Linked DNA regions of Homo sapiens: regions 1, 3 and 4 are each linked to region 2. Evidence: promoter capture Hi-C in 16 types of primary human blood cells and fetal thymus (Javierre and others, 2016). All regions are on one chromosome and are shown on one strand. The core of a region is centred on a gene start or on the middle of the fragment in contact, and the rest is flanking DNA. Distances in the headings are between cores, read along the strand shown.

Region 1 (3,445 bases), core at 184-2,683, 93 kb before region 2:
GGGGTCCAGTTGCATTCTTTTATGTGTGGATGTCCAGTTGTCCAAGCACAGTTTGTTTGAAAAGACTACTCTTTCCCCATTGAATGATCTTGCTACCCTTGTTGACAATCAACTGACCATAAAAGTAAACATTTGTTTTTGCACTATTGATTCTATTCCATTGATCTATATGTGTATCCTTATGCCAGTACTACATTGTCTTGATTACCGAAGATTTGTAGATTTGTAGTAGGCCTTGAAATTGGGAGTATGGGTCTCCCAACCTTGTTCTTTTTCAAGATTGTTTTGGCTATTAGGTGCCTTTTACCTAATTTTAGGATTAGGATGTCAATTTCTGCAAAAAAGGCAGTTGGCATTTTGGTAGTGAATCTGCTGAATATGTAGATCAATTTGGAGAGTACTGCTACCTAACAATATTAAATCTTCTGATCTATGAACAGGGGGATGTCTTTCTTTAAATCTTCTTTAATTTCTTTCAGCAATGTTTCATAGTTCTCAGTGTACAAGTCTTGCACTTCTTTTGTTAAATATATTCCTAAGTATTTCATTAATTTGATGACATTATAAATGGGAGTTTTTTTCTTAATTTCATTTGTGGGATATTCATTGCTGGTCTATAGATATATAATTTATTTTTGTATATTGACCTTGTATTCTGCAACCTTGTGAAATCATTTATTAGTTCTGTTAGTTTGTTAGAGACATCTTATGATAGCCTATATATAAGATCATGTCATTTGCAGATAAAGGTAGTTTTACTTCTGTTTTTCCAATCTGGGTGCCTTTTATTTCTCTTCTTTGCCTAATTGCTCTGGCTAAAATACCTCCAGTACAATGTTAGATAGAAATGTTAACAGCAGGAATCCTTGCTTTGTTACTGATGTTAGCGGACAGCATCCAATCTTTCACTGTCAAGTATGACATTAGCTGTAGGCTTTTGCTTTTGTTTTTAAGATAGATGTCCTTTATCAGGTTGAGGAAGTTTTCTTACCTTCTTGGTTTATTGAATGTTTTTATCCTGAAAGGGTTGTCGATTTTGTCAGATGCTTTTTCTGCATTTATTGAGGCTGCCATGTGGTTTTTGTTTTTTATTGTATTGATAGGGTTACACTACCTGACTTTCAGATGTTAAACCAACCTTGTATTCCTGGCATAAATCCCACACAGTCAGGGTGTATAATTCTTTTTATATGTTGCTTTTTATATGTTGCTGGATTTAACTTGTTTTTTAAAATAGGATTTTTGCATTCATATTCATAAGAGATATTGGTCTGTAGTTTTCTTTTCCTGTGATGTCATTGTCTGGTTTTGATATTGGCCTCAGAATGATTTAGGAAGTGTTTCTTCCTCTTCTGCTTTTTGGAAGAGGCTTTTAAGAATTGATATTAATTTTTCTTTTGTTTGGTAGAACTTACAAGTAAAGACATCTGGGCATGGGTTTTTCTTTGTGGATTATTTTTACAAATTCAGCCTCCTTACTTATTACAGGTCTGTTCATATTTTCTGTTTGTCTTGAGCCAGTTTCAGTAGTTTGTGTCTTTCTAGGAATTTGTCCATTATATCTAAGTTATCTAATTTATTGGCAGCAATTGCTCACAGTTCCCTTCATAATTCTTTTTATCTCTATAAGTTCAGTTATAATTTCCCCCCTTTCATTTCTGATTCTAGTAATTTGCATCTTCTCTCTTATTTTGTCGATATATCAAAGAACCAACTTTTGGTTTCATTAATTCTCTGTATTCCTTTTCTATTCTCAGGTTCATTTGCTTCTGCCCTAGTCCTGATTATTTCCTTTCTTTTCCTTGCTTTAGGTTTAGTTAGCTCTTCTTTTTCTACTTTTGCAAGGGAGGAGGTAAAACTGCCTTTGCAAAAGTTATAACAGAAAATTCTGACAGTGAAAGAGATCTGACCTAACCAATTCCATCTTGCTTCTAACCTCCAAGCAGTCCTCGTTCATTCCTGGGCAGAGGCCAAACTAACTTTGGGAGGAACTTAGTTCATAGATTAATGTATTATTCTGCTGCTGTCAGATGGAGTGGACTACAGATGTCTGTTAGGTCTAGTTTTTTTTTTTTTTTTTTTTTTTTTTTTTTTTTTGATAAAGAGCCTCCCTCTGTCACCAAGGCTGGAGTGCAGTGGTGCAATCTTGGCTTACTCCAACTTCTGCTTCCTGGGTTCCAGCCAGCATGTCTGGCTAATTTTTGTATTTTTAGTAGAGACAGGGTTTTGCCATGTTGGCCAGGCTGGTCTCGAATTCCTGACCTCAAGTGATCCACCTGCTTTGGCCTCCCAAAATGCTGGGATTACAGGTGTAAGCCACCACGCCCAGCCAGGTCTGGTTTGTTTATAGTGTTGTACAAGTTTCTTATTTGTTGATCTTCTGCCTAGTTGTTCTATCCATTATTCAAAGTAAAGTAATAACGTCTTCAACTCTTTTTTTTGAGACAGAATCTCACTCTGTTGCCCAGGCTGGAGTGCAATGGCGTGATCTCAGTTCACCGCAACCTCTGCCTGCCGGGTTCAAGTGATTCTCCTGCCTCAGCCTCCTGAGTAGCTGGGATTACAGGCACCTGTCACCATGCTTGGCTAATTTTGTATTTTTAGTAGAGACGGGGTTTCTCCATGTTGGCCAGGCTGGTCTCGAACTCCTGACCTCAGGTGATCTGCCTGCCTCGGCCTCCCAAAGTGCTGGGACTACAGGCATGAGCCACTGCGCCTGGCCAACGTCTTCAACTCTTATTGTTGAATTGTGTATCTCTCCCTCCAGCTCTGTCCATCTTTGCTTCATGTATCTGGGGCTCTGATAGGTGCATATGCTTATAACTCTTATAGCTTCTCAGTGGATTGACCATTTTATCATTATGAGATGTTCTTCTTTAGCCACAGCCAAATTCCTGGACCTGGGGATTTCACAGTGGTGGGATGGGTGAGTGTGCTGGGGGCAATTGAGCTAGAAGGTGGCATTGGTGTAGCCATGGAGGTTGGAGCTCAGCCAGGGTGAGGAGACATGCAGGCAGGTCAAGGCTATGAGGGCAGAGAAGAAACCAGCAAGCAGAGGAAGCTGGTCTACCGAGTGGTGCCATGGTGAGCCCATGAGGTTCCATGAGAAGCGGATGGCCGGGGTCATCTCTCTTGCTGCATAACTCAGTTCCCAACCTCATGAGCCTTGGCCTTCTGTGGTGTCTGGTCCTTGTTGTAGGCTTTCAGTATCCTTCCACCTTCCCCGTTAATTTGAGCTATTAAATTTGTTTTAAAAATTATCATTTTTAGAGACAGGGTTTTGCTCTGCCACCCAGGCTGGAATGCAGTGGGGCAATCCTAGCTCATGGCAGCCTCAAACTCCTGGGCTCAAGCAATCCTCCCACCTCAGCCTCCTGAGTGGTTAGGACTACAGGTGTGTGCCTCCACCCCTGGCTGTTTTGAACATTTTTTGTAGAGACAGGGT
Region 2 (3,543 bases), core at 76-2,575:
CCGCGAAAGCGCAGAAGTGGACACTTACGGAGAAATTCCTGTCCTCATATCAATTCCCGGCTCCCGGGATTTCCGGCACGCATTATGCACAGGCTGAGCGCTCAATAAATGTGGAATGAACGATCGACTATTTTTCTCCCCTTTCTGGTAGGTTGGTAACCTTATACCTTCAAGACGAGTCATAAATATTAGGAGAAAATGTTTTGAACTACAAATCAAAGGCTTTGAGAGCAGGCCAGGCAGAGAGAGGTCAGTTTGGTCCAAGACCAAGTTTGTGTGGGCAGCCCCGAAGCTCACAGCTGAGACCACTGTCCATGAACCTGGGTCCCCGTGACAGCCTCCAGCGGTGCTCAGAGCCCCCGAGGGACAGAAACACCCTCTCTGCCCCTATCTGCAGAGGGGGCTCAGCAGAAGGCCTGGTGGCCCCATCGGGCCTGGAGGGGCCTCCTGGGGGAGGTGGCTTTCAGGCCTGAGGCCGCTAGGACCTGCTCCGGGTTTCAGTCGGGAACCTGGGCCCTCTCCTGTGCCCCCGCCACCCCCTTTCTAGTACAGTCCCCGCGGGGGGCTGTCCTCTCCCATCTCCCAGCTCCACACCCACTTTTGGTGCGGCTGCCCTTCCTCCCTGAGCCAGGCCCCACCTTCCCAGGAGCCTCTGAGTCAGGCTGGGCTGTGGTCTGCAAACTTCCGGGCCTTTCAGGTGTCAGAAAAGTTTCTCTTCCTCCCTCTGGGGCAGGTGCACCAAGGGGCTGCAGCCTCCTGACCCCCGATTTTTTCCTGTCCAGTAGGAGGAGGTGGGGGCTTTGCTGGGCGGTGATACTCAGAGACGCTCAAAGAGACACGGAGGAGAGGCACACGAGGTGGAAAGTGAGGGAGAAAAAGGGTTGGAAGGGAAAAAGGGGAGAGGAGAGTGAGAGAGAGAAGGGGGGCAGGGGGACAGAGATGGAGAGGGAAGGATACCCCCAGCATCGCGGGACCAGCGGGAGCCACTCCCATCCCCCGACGCCCCCCCCGCCACCGTGTCATCTCACTGATGCCCCCCATCTCCTCCCCGTGCCCTCTTCTCTTCCCCCAACTCCCCGCCTCGTGCTCCCCCTCCGCCAGCTCCCCCATCCCCGCTGCGCCTACCTGGGGCGCTCATGCTCCGCCAGCCAGCTGCGCGGGGCGCCTCCTCCACGCAGGCCTCCGGCTTCCTCCAGGCGACCAGGCCCTCCGTCCCCCCGGGCCCGGAGCCGTCCTCCGAGGGGCGCCGCCCGCCCAGGGGCTGCAGGGCCGGGAGGGGGCTGCGGGCGGCGCGGGCAGGAGTCCGAAGGCCAGAGGAGGCAGGAGAGAAAAAAGGAGAGAAAGTATGTCATAGGCTGGGAGGGGCGGGGGAGGGAAATGCAAAACCCGACAGGAAATGAGACTAAAAAATGCGAAAGGTTAGAAAAAGATAAGGAAGAGAGGGAGGGGGCGGAGTCGGTGCTTCGGGAGGAGGGCGGCAAGGAGGTGGGGGTGGGAGTGGGGACAGGGCCGGGGGTGGGGGTGCTTGGGGACAGATCAGGGAGCCGGAGATGGGGAGACCAAGGCGAGTCTCAGGGCCCAGCCCACCTGCATCAGTCGGGGTGAGGCTGGACCAGTCTGGGCATCAGTCCCCACCCAGCCGTGACCCCCGGCAGAGTCCAGGTGGGGCCTTGGGAGGGGCTCTCTCCCTTCTAGGTTCTCCAGGGCACTGGCTCCCGAGATCTAGCTGAATTTCTGAAGAAATTCCAGAGCCTGTCACTGCAATGGGAGGGGAACGGGGTGCCCCACATCAAATCCTGCAGCCTCCTACACCCCAAGCCTCTTTCCTCCCTCAGCCCCTGTTCTGGAAGCTTCCTGGGCATGCCGGGTGGTCAGCACCCCTTCAAAGGCCTTCCTCACCCCGACAGCTTTGGGGTCCAAGACACCCACCATCAGCTTGTGCCCTCGATGTTCCGGTGAAGTATACTTGTAAGAGAAACTGTGATTTGGATGTCATCATTTTACTTTATTTTTATTTTTTGAGATGGAGTCTCGCTCTGTCACCCAGGCTGGAGTGCAGTGGCACAATCTCAGCTCACTGCAAGCTCCACCTCCTGGGTTCAAGCGATTCTCCCACCTCAGCCTCCCGAGTAGCTGGGACCACAGGCGTGCACCACCAAACTTGGCTAATTTTTGTATTTTTAGTAGAAATGGGGTTTCAACATGATGGCCAGGCTGGCCTCGAACTCCTGACCTCAAGTGATATGCCCACCTCAGCCTCCCAAAGTGCTGGGATTACAGGCATGAGCCTCTGCGCCCAGCTGGATGTCATCATTTTAATAATTTACCCCAAATGGCCATCGTCATGGGTGGGATGGTCCCAAGGGTTTACATGGATTGCAGACTCAAAAATCTGGATGAAAGAAAATGTGATACACACACACACGCCATGCAATACTACTCAGCCATAAAAAAGAACGAAATAAAGTATTTTGCAGCAACTTGGATGGAACTGGAGGCCATTATCCTAAGTGAAGTAACTCAGGAGTGGAAAACCAAATACTACATGTTCTTATTTAAAAGCGAGAGCTAAGCTATGGGTAGGCAAAGGCAGGCAGAGTGGGATCATGGACGTTGGAGACTCAGAAGGGGGAAGAATGGGAGGGGGTAGGGGATGAAAAATCACCTATTGGGTACAATGTATACTGTACAATGTGCACTATTCCAGTGACTGATGCACTAAAAGCCCAGACTTCACCACTATACGCTTCATCCACGTAACCCAAAACCGCAAGTACCCCTAAAGCTATTGAAATAAAAATCTGGATGAGCCATGCCTACCCAGAAAACCTTAGTTTCTATTCTCTTGCTGCAATTGCACTGCCTCCTGCACCGCCCGCCCCCCCGTTGCCCCAGCCTCTGCACCTCTCATTCTACTCTGCCTCAGTTTACCATTCTCCTCTCATCTATCTCCCTCTCTTTTGATCCCCTCATTATGGCTAGAGAATGTAGGCTTCTGTTTCATGTTTTAAGTGTTCTGAGAAAAGTTCCTCGAGCTGCTAGAAGGAAAGGCCTTCAATAAATTAAATTTTCAGCAAGACAATAAATAAAAAATGGGACATTGGTCCAAGCACGGAAGAATCTGAAATACCAGTGAGGAGTCTGTTTGCACTGATGCACATGTGCTAGGGATGAAGGAAGACACGAGTTTGCTTCCTGTAAAGCGTGTTCAGAAATGCAAGCAAGGGCCGTAAAGAAAGTTTCTAAAATGAACACCAAGACCCACAGCCTTCTAACACCAAGACCCACAGCCTTCTAGGCCTTGGTCCCTAAGGATACATCTCACTGCCTACCTGGGACTGGGGAAGCTGCTTGTACTCCATGAAACCTCTAAATCAGGCAGTGGCATTTTATTTATTTATTTATTTATTTGGGATGGAGTCTCACTCTGTTGCCCAGGCTGGAGTGCAGTGGCACGATCTCGGCTCACTGCAACCTCCACCTCCCGGGTTCAAGTGATCGTCCTGCCTCAGCCTCCTGAGTAGCTGGGATTACAGGCACGCA
Region 3 (3,389 bases), core at 555-3,054, 91 kb after region 2:
CTTCAAGGTGTCTTTTAAAGCTTTTAATTTGAAATTAAAATGACATCCACTTTATAATTGGCTCATACTTTTGGTGTAATGTCTAAGAACTCTTTGCTTAACCCAAAGCCATGAAGATTTTCTCTTGTTGGTTTCTCCTAGAAATTTTTTAATTGTAGCTCTTACATTTAGGTCTGTGATACATTTTGAGATAATTTTTATTTTTGGTGTGAGTTAAGGGCCTAACATTCTTTTGTGTGTGTGTGTTTAGTATATGATATCCAACTGTTACAATGCCATGTTTGAAAAGAGTATCCCACCCCATTCCATTGTCTTGACATCATTATCAATTGTTTTGACATCATTGTCAAAAATCCGTTGGCCATATACATAAGCGCTTATTTCTTGGCTTTCACTTCTGTACCATTATCAATATATGCCTATCCTTACTCCAATGCCACACGGTCTTGATTACTGTAGCTTTAGAGTAAGCTTTGAAATTGGGTAGGATAAGTCCTCCAGCTTTGTTTTTCTTTCCCCAAATTGTTTCAGCAATTGTATGTCTTTTGCATTTCTGCATTCATTTTAGAACCAGCTTGTCACTTTCTTCAAAAAATCCTGCTGGGACTTTAACAGGGATTACATTGCATCTATAGATCAATTTGATCTATGGATTGACATCTTAATAATATTTAATCTTCCAATCCATTAACATGGAATATCTCTCCATTTATATTTTCTCTCATTTCTCTAAGCAATCCTTTATAATGCTCAGTGTACCAATTTTTCATTTTTCTTGTTAAATTTATTCCAAACTGTTTATTTTTGATGCTATTGTGAATGAACTTTAAAAAATTCATTCTCAAATTGTTCATGACTAGTATAGAAAATTCCATTAATTTCTATATATTGATCTTGTATCCTGCAAAGTTGCTAAATTTACTAGTTGTAGGAGGATTTTTTTTTTTGGTGGATTCCTTAAGATTTTCTACATATAGGATGATGCCATCTGTGACTAAAAAAGTTTTACTTCTTTCTTTCCAATCTGGATGTCTTTATTTTATATATTTTTAGCTTTATTTTACTGGCTCGAATCTTCAGTAAATTCCCGAATGGAAGTGGTGAGAATGAATGTCTTTGCTTCATTTCCAAGCTTTGGGAAAAGCATTCAGTCTTTCACCATTAAGTATAACGTTAGCTGTGGGTTTTCTGTGGTGCACTTCATCAAGTTGAGGAAGTTCCCTCTTATTCCTAGTTTGTGGATGGTTTTTGTCATGAATGGGTGTTGGATTTTGTCGATTGCTTTTTTTGTGTCTACTAATTCACTATCTGAACGTGCCATCTGTTTCCTGCCAGGACCCTAAAAAATAAAAAATGCTCGCTGCAAAGTGAAAATTTATGTGATGAAGGTGGATTCCCTAGTCCCTACTCAATGAATTATTGCACTGACTTGATGCCCATTCTCTCAGCTTTTTAGCTTCAAGAGATTTGGTTTTAAAATATATCCACTAGGCCGGGCACTGTGGCTAACGCCTGTAATCCTAGCACTTTGGGAGGCCGAGGTGGGTGGACTGCCTGAGCTCAAGAGTTCGAGACCAGCCTGGACAACACAGTGAAACCCTGTCTCTACTAAAATACAAAAAATTATCTGGGCCTGGCAGCGCATGCCTGTAATCCCAGCTACTCGGGTGGCTGACGCAGGAGAACCCCTTGAATCCGGGAGGCGGAAGTTGTAGTGAGCCGATATTGTGCCACTGCACTCCAGCCTGGGCGTCTCCAAAAAAAACATATCTATATATCTATATATATCTCCACTAGTAATTTGATACTCCTTCCTTCCAAAATGGAGCCTAATTCTCCTCCTTCTGAGTGTGAACTAGACTCAGTGAATTGCTTCTAGGGAACAGAATATGGCAGAAATGATGGCGTATGGTTTCTGAGACTAGGTGATAGGAGGCGTTGTGGTTTCTACCTCATGATTCACTCTGAGAGAAACCAGCCGCCATGTTGTGACATCACTCAAGGAGCTCCATGGGAAGTTCCACCAAGTGAAGCCTCTGTGACTGAGTCACTTTGGAAGAGAATCCTCAAGTCTTCTGACTGTAGCCCCAGCCAACATCTGACTGCAAACCCATGATACAAATCCAGCCAGAACCACCCAGTTAAACTGCTCCTGAATTCCTGACCCCCGGGAACCACAAGGTAATAAACGACTATTGTTCTAAGCCACTGTGTGTTGGAGTGATTTGTTATGCAGCGTTTGACAATACAAAAGACATTGCCACCTTCTCTCAGAATTTGTTAAGCTCTAAAAATGACAAAGATGGGTCTGAAGGAACAAGGATTTCTGGACCTGGAGGCTCTTTCAGAAGTTAGATCCCATGAGGATGGGGCATTGCTCTAAGAAGAGGTTGGTGAGCATTGTATGTGAAAACACTTCGTAGGTGATAAATACGGCATAAACACATTATTGTTACTGGAAGGTTTGTTATAGCCTTCAAGCTTACACTCGATGTCATCTTAGCCGGCATCCTTCTTTCTATCCCAACACATCAGGTCTTTGATAATTTGTGTTCTTCTAAGAAAGGACCCCCAGGGTCCTGCCCTCCCAGGACCGACATGCTGACCAGGCACTTGATGTGGACATGTCAGACCACCCACATTCTACTTCCTTCAGTTGCTTTTTCTAGAATGCCAGCCAGGAGGGACGGGTACACTCTGAATTTTGATCTCATGTGGGTGGGTGATCTGCTTTCTAATTAAAGTTCCCTGCCCGGCCCCTTCTGCGGAACGTTTCACCCAGGAGAAAAGACCTGAAGCAATTGTGTCAAAGGGTAGGAAAGCATTTACACAGCAAGGGAGATCTTGCTTAGCAATTGGGGGAGAAAGAGAGAGAAAGATTTGCCTCCAGCTGCCATTCTGAACTGTACCGTTTGTACAAAGTGGAACGTAAGTTTCTGTTTTCTGAAAAGGGGACAAGTTGCTATTGATAAAGCAGGAGGTCACATCCATCTCCATTTGCATACAAATTACTTTCTCATCTACTTTCCAAGGGGGAGAAAGAGCTGCTTTATCGTTCTCAGAGGGAGCAAACTCTCCACGGGTTGCCTTGTATATTTGTCAGAACTTTTTGGATGCAAGTGACAGACACTCAACCCAACCCTGAGTAGCTTATGCAAAACTGGTAACTTTTTTTTTTTTTTTTTTTTTTTTGAGAGTTTCGCTCTTGTTGCCCAGGCTGGAGTGCAGTGGAGCCATCTCAATTCACTGCAACCTCCGCCTCCTGGGTTCAAGCGATTCTCCTGTCTCAGTTTCCAGAGTAGCTGGTACTACAGGCGTGTACCACCATGCCCAGCTAATTTTTGTATTTTTAGTACAGACGGGGTTTCACCATGTTGGCCAAGATGTTC
Region 4 (3,717 bases), core at 298-2,797, 110 kb after region 2:
CATGTTAAGTGACAGAATGACTGAAATCTGCTTCAAAAGATTCCAGGGCTCATCTAAAGTGGGTAGAGGAACAGATGAAATGAGATTGGCCCTGAATTGAAAATTATTAGGGCTGCGCGTGGTGGCTCATGCTTGTAATCCCAGCAGTTTGGGAGGTCAAGACCAGAGGATCACCTGAGCCCAGGAGTTCCAGACCAGCCTGGGCAACACAGTGAGACCCTGCCTGTACTAAAAATAATTTAAAAAAAATTAACCAGGTGTGACGGCTCGTGCCTGTAGTCTCAGCTACTGGTGGGGCTGAGGCAAGAAGATCATTTGACTATGGAAGTCTAGGAGGTCGAGGCTGCAGTGAGCCCTGATCATACCACTGCACTCCAGCCAGGGGAAAAAGTGAGACCCTGTCTCAAAAATTAAAAAAATAAAGCACTACATTTCCTTTCTAGAAACACACACACAGGCAGATGTGTTCCATGAATCCCAATAACTGGGACAAGGAGAGGCGGGATGTCTGCAGTGTGGGATGATTCTGGGCCTCTGAATGACACTGAGCGGTCTGGGTGGAAATCCGCAGATTTTCCATCTTCCAGGGCAGAAGTCGGCATGCTTTCTGTAAAGGACTGGACCGTGAATATTTTAGGTCTTTTGGGCCATATCATCTCGGTCACAACTACTCATGCTGGTTGCACGACAGGGGCCAAAGACAATATATGAAGAAATGGGTGTGTCCCTGTTCCGACAAAACTTTATTTACAAAAACAGGCAGCAGACCGCATTTGCCCTGAGGTGGCAGTTTGACCAGCCCTGTCCTGTTGCTGGACAGAAGAACTTTCTGTGATGACGGAAATGTTATTTCTGTGCCATCCAGTATAGGAGCCATTAGTCACACGCAGTTACTGAGCACTTTGGATGGGGCTAGTCGGACTGAGGAACTAGTTTTTAATTTTTATTTAGCTTAAATTAGTTTAACTTTAAAAAGTCACATGGAGTTAGTTGCTACCACGTTAGACAGCACAGTTCTAGAGAGCCCAGCCCAGCAACTAAAAAGGAGGAGAGGCTGGGTGCGGTGGCTCACGCTTGTAATCTCAGCACTTTGAGAGGCTGAGGCAGCAGGATTGCTTGAGGACAGGAGTTTTAGACCAGCTTGGGCAACACAGCGAGACACCGACTCTATAAAAAAAATTTAAAAATTGGAGAAGTGTAGTGGTGTGAGCCTGTAGTCCCAGCTACTCAGGAAGCTGAGGTGGGAGGACTGATTGAGCCCAGGAGTTCCAGAGGAGCCTGGGCAACACAGTGAGACCCTGTCTCTACAAAAAGTACAAAAATTAGCCATGCGTGGTAGCATGCACCTGTAGTCCTAGCTACTCTGGAGGGTGAGATGGGAGGATCACTTGAGCCTGAGAGACGGAGGTTGCAGTGAGCCAAGTCTGTGCCACTGCCCAGTGAGCCTGGGCAACACAGTGACACCCTGTCTCAAAAAAAACAAAAAGAGGAAGAGGAGATGCAGCCCAGGGAGAAGAACTGATTTGTCTAAGACGTGGCTCCAACCTTTGGGTTCATGCTTCTCCCTGCGCCACGGTATGAAGTTGCCTGAACTCCAGAACCACTAAGCAATGAGGCAGGTGACCTGGGCTCTGATCCTCAGGCTGGGACCTGGGGAAAGCCATTCACCTTTAGTGTTCTGCTGTGTCTCCATGTGTACGAGGACCACACCCCAACCTCCTCGTCCATTCACCTGTGGGGGCCACCAGGGGGATCACAGGAGACAATGTAGGCAGAGGCCCTTTGAAAACTTCAAAGCGCCCCGGGAGTTTCCGGATGTTCTGCATTAATTTATCTAATCCAAGGTAGGAAAGTGAAACGTGGGCTATGAAAGACAGGAGGGAAGTCGGGTGATTCATCGCTCGGCTGGAACTCTCGCGGGTTAAATCTCTGTTTCAGTGAATTTCCTGGGGAGAATTCAGGGCCGTGTTCCAGCTAACAAATTCATCCCTTTGCTTTGACTCTGAACCATATTCTGGGACGGCATCAAAGCCAGCCTCCCAAGAGTCGCTTGGGGACTGTCTGGGCCCCGAGCTCTCCGACCCTCCTGCCTCCACTCTGCAGATGCTCCTGCTCCCATCTCCCCAGCACAGACCCCACCACAGCCTCCTGCCTGGCCCCATCTGCCATCCCTGCGGCTGAGCCCGACTGAGAGTGAAGTCCTTCATTAAATCAGTGCCTACCTCGTCCTGCGGATGGAGGTCATTCTCAGCCTCATTCCCCTTGCCAGAGAAGGATGTGGGGGGAGGCAGGCAGGGCAAAGGCAGGGAGACATCCTCTGGTCCAGAATTGATTCCTCTTCTGAAAGAAAGAAAAGCAAAGATGTCCCTAAAGGGGACATTAAAACTCTCAACAAGACCCTCAGGCTGGGAGTCTTCTTCCCAAGGCCAGGGTCAGGCCTGAGAGGTGTTCTCAAAGACCCGGAGTGAAATCCTCTTCCTAGACAAAGATGATTCCAAGGATGATTCCAAGTGGGAAGGGGAGAGAGGGGCCTTGCACGAGGCAAGTAACTAGGCCTGTGGGAGCAAGTTCGTACCGTCTACCCTCTGTCAAACTCTGTACTTGAAACGGTTCATGTTTTTTAAAAGGATGGGCGTTTTAAATCCCTCCATTCCGCTCTGCCCCGTGATGTAATTTAGAAATCACGAGAGCTCTCAAAAAAAAAAAAAAAAAAAAAAAAAACAAAAACCAGCGAGATGTGCTCACAGACCTTGGTCCGCAAATGTTTTTGCCAGATGCTGAGAACCTAGGCAGAATCCAGAGCAGCTTTTATAGAGGATTTGATGTTTAACTCATCATGGAGAGGTCCCTGATCTCTCCCTGGAGAAAAAGGAAGTCGATGGGGTCGTTTGTACGGCGAAAACTACAGCATGATGTTGGAGGGATCAGGGAGCCTCCTTCAAGGGTTTAGGGGGCTCTGGGTCAGGGCCTTTCTGGACGGTTCTTCCCTTGGGAATAGGAAGCCAGGATCACAGAGGGGAAGGGTCCAGCCCAGATTTGGAGCTGGATACCCTAGTGGGTATCCCTTAAACAGGAGCAGGTGAGCCTGTGTTACAGGACCCGATCTGGACCCCAAGAGAGGGTTCTTGGATCTTATGCAAGAAAGAATTCAGGGCGAGTCCATAGAGTAAAGAGAAATCAAGTTTATTAGGAAAGGAAAGGAATAAAAGAAGGGCTACTCCACAGACACAGCAGCCCCAAGGGCTGCTGGTTGCCCATTTTTGTGGTTATTTCTTGATGATATGCTAAAGGAGGGGTGGATTATTCATGCCTCTCCCTTTTAGACCATATAGGGAACTTCCTGACGTTGCCATGGCATTTGTAAACTGTCATGATGCTGGTGGGAGCGTAGCCGTGAGGATGACCAGAGGTCACTCTGGTGTCCATCTTGGTTTTTGTGGGGTTTTGCCAGATTCTTCACTGCAACCTGTTTTATCAGCAAGGTGTTTAGGACCTGTATCTAGTGCTGACCTCCTATCTCATCCTGTGACTTGGAATGCCTTAACCATCTGGGAATGCACCTAGTAGGTCTCAGCCTCATTTTACCCAGCTCCTCTTCAAGATAGAGTTGCTCTGGTTCAAATGCCTCTGACATCTGGGTGGTAGGGTTGTGCTGCCTGGCTTCTTAACTTCCTGGCTCAGAACCCAAACCTGTTGCCTCTGGCTGCCCAGCCAATG

Evidence for each region. The method cuts DNA at HindIII sites, captures the fragments that hold promoters and counts their contacts. A CHiCAGO score of 5 or more calls a contact.
Region 1: a fragment that was not itself captured here is called in contact with the fragment with the promoter of CARD11 in region 2 in 4 of 17 cell types (total CD8 T cells, non-activated CD4 T cells, activated CD4 T cells and 1 more); the score reaches 7.7 in total CD8 T cells.
Region 3: a fragment that was not itself captured here is called in contact with the fragment with the promoter of CARD11 in region 2 in 1 of 17 cell types (total CD8 T cells); the score reaches 5.1 in total CD8 T cells.
Region 4: a fragment that was not itself captured here is called in contact with the fragment with the promoter of CARD11 in region 2 in 2 of 17 cell types (total CD8 T cells and non-activated CD4 T cells); the score reaches 6.1 in total CD8 T cells.

What each region holds. Positions count from the first base shown.
Region 1 is chr7:2,949,470-2,952,914 of GRCh38, forward strand. All of the region lies in intron 2 of CARD11 (caspase recruitment domain family member 11), which reads right to left. Among named protein-coding and RNA genes, the nearest start is that of CARD11-AS1, 7.2 kb to the left of the region's middle. The HindIII fragment of the contact is 6,187 bases long and covers 1-3,445 here.
Region 2 is chr7:3,042,542-3,046,084 of GRCh38, forward strand. It overlaps CARD11 (caspase recruitment domain family member 11), which reads right to left and starts at 1,326. Exons shown (of 25, transcript NM_032415.7): 1 at 1,126-1,326. RefSeq lists a silencer at 1,039-1,388 and an enhancer at 1,254-1,548. The HindIII fragment of the contact is 15,618 bases long and covers 1-1,848 here.
Region 3 is chr7:3,132,863-3,136,251 of GRCh38, forward strand. No RefSeq gene overlaps it. Among named protein-coding and RNA genes, the nearest start is that of CARD11, 91 kb to the left of the region's middle. The HindIII fragment of the contact is 1,349 bases long and covers 1,131-2,479 here.
Region 4 is chr7:3,155,916-3,159,632 of GRCh38, forward strand. It overlaps LOC100129603 (a long non-coding RNA gene), which reads right to left and starts at 2,658. Exons shown (of 4, transcript NR_126024.1): 1 at 2,576-2,658; 2 at 2,223-2,340. The HindIII fragment of the contact is 7,116 bases long and covers 1-3,717 here.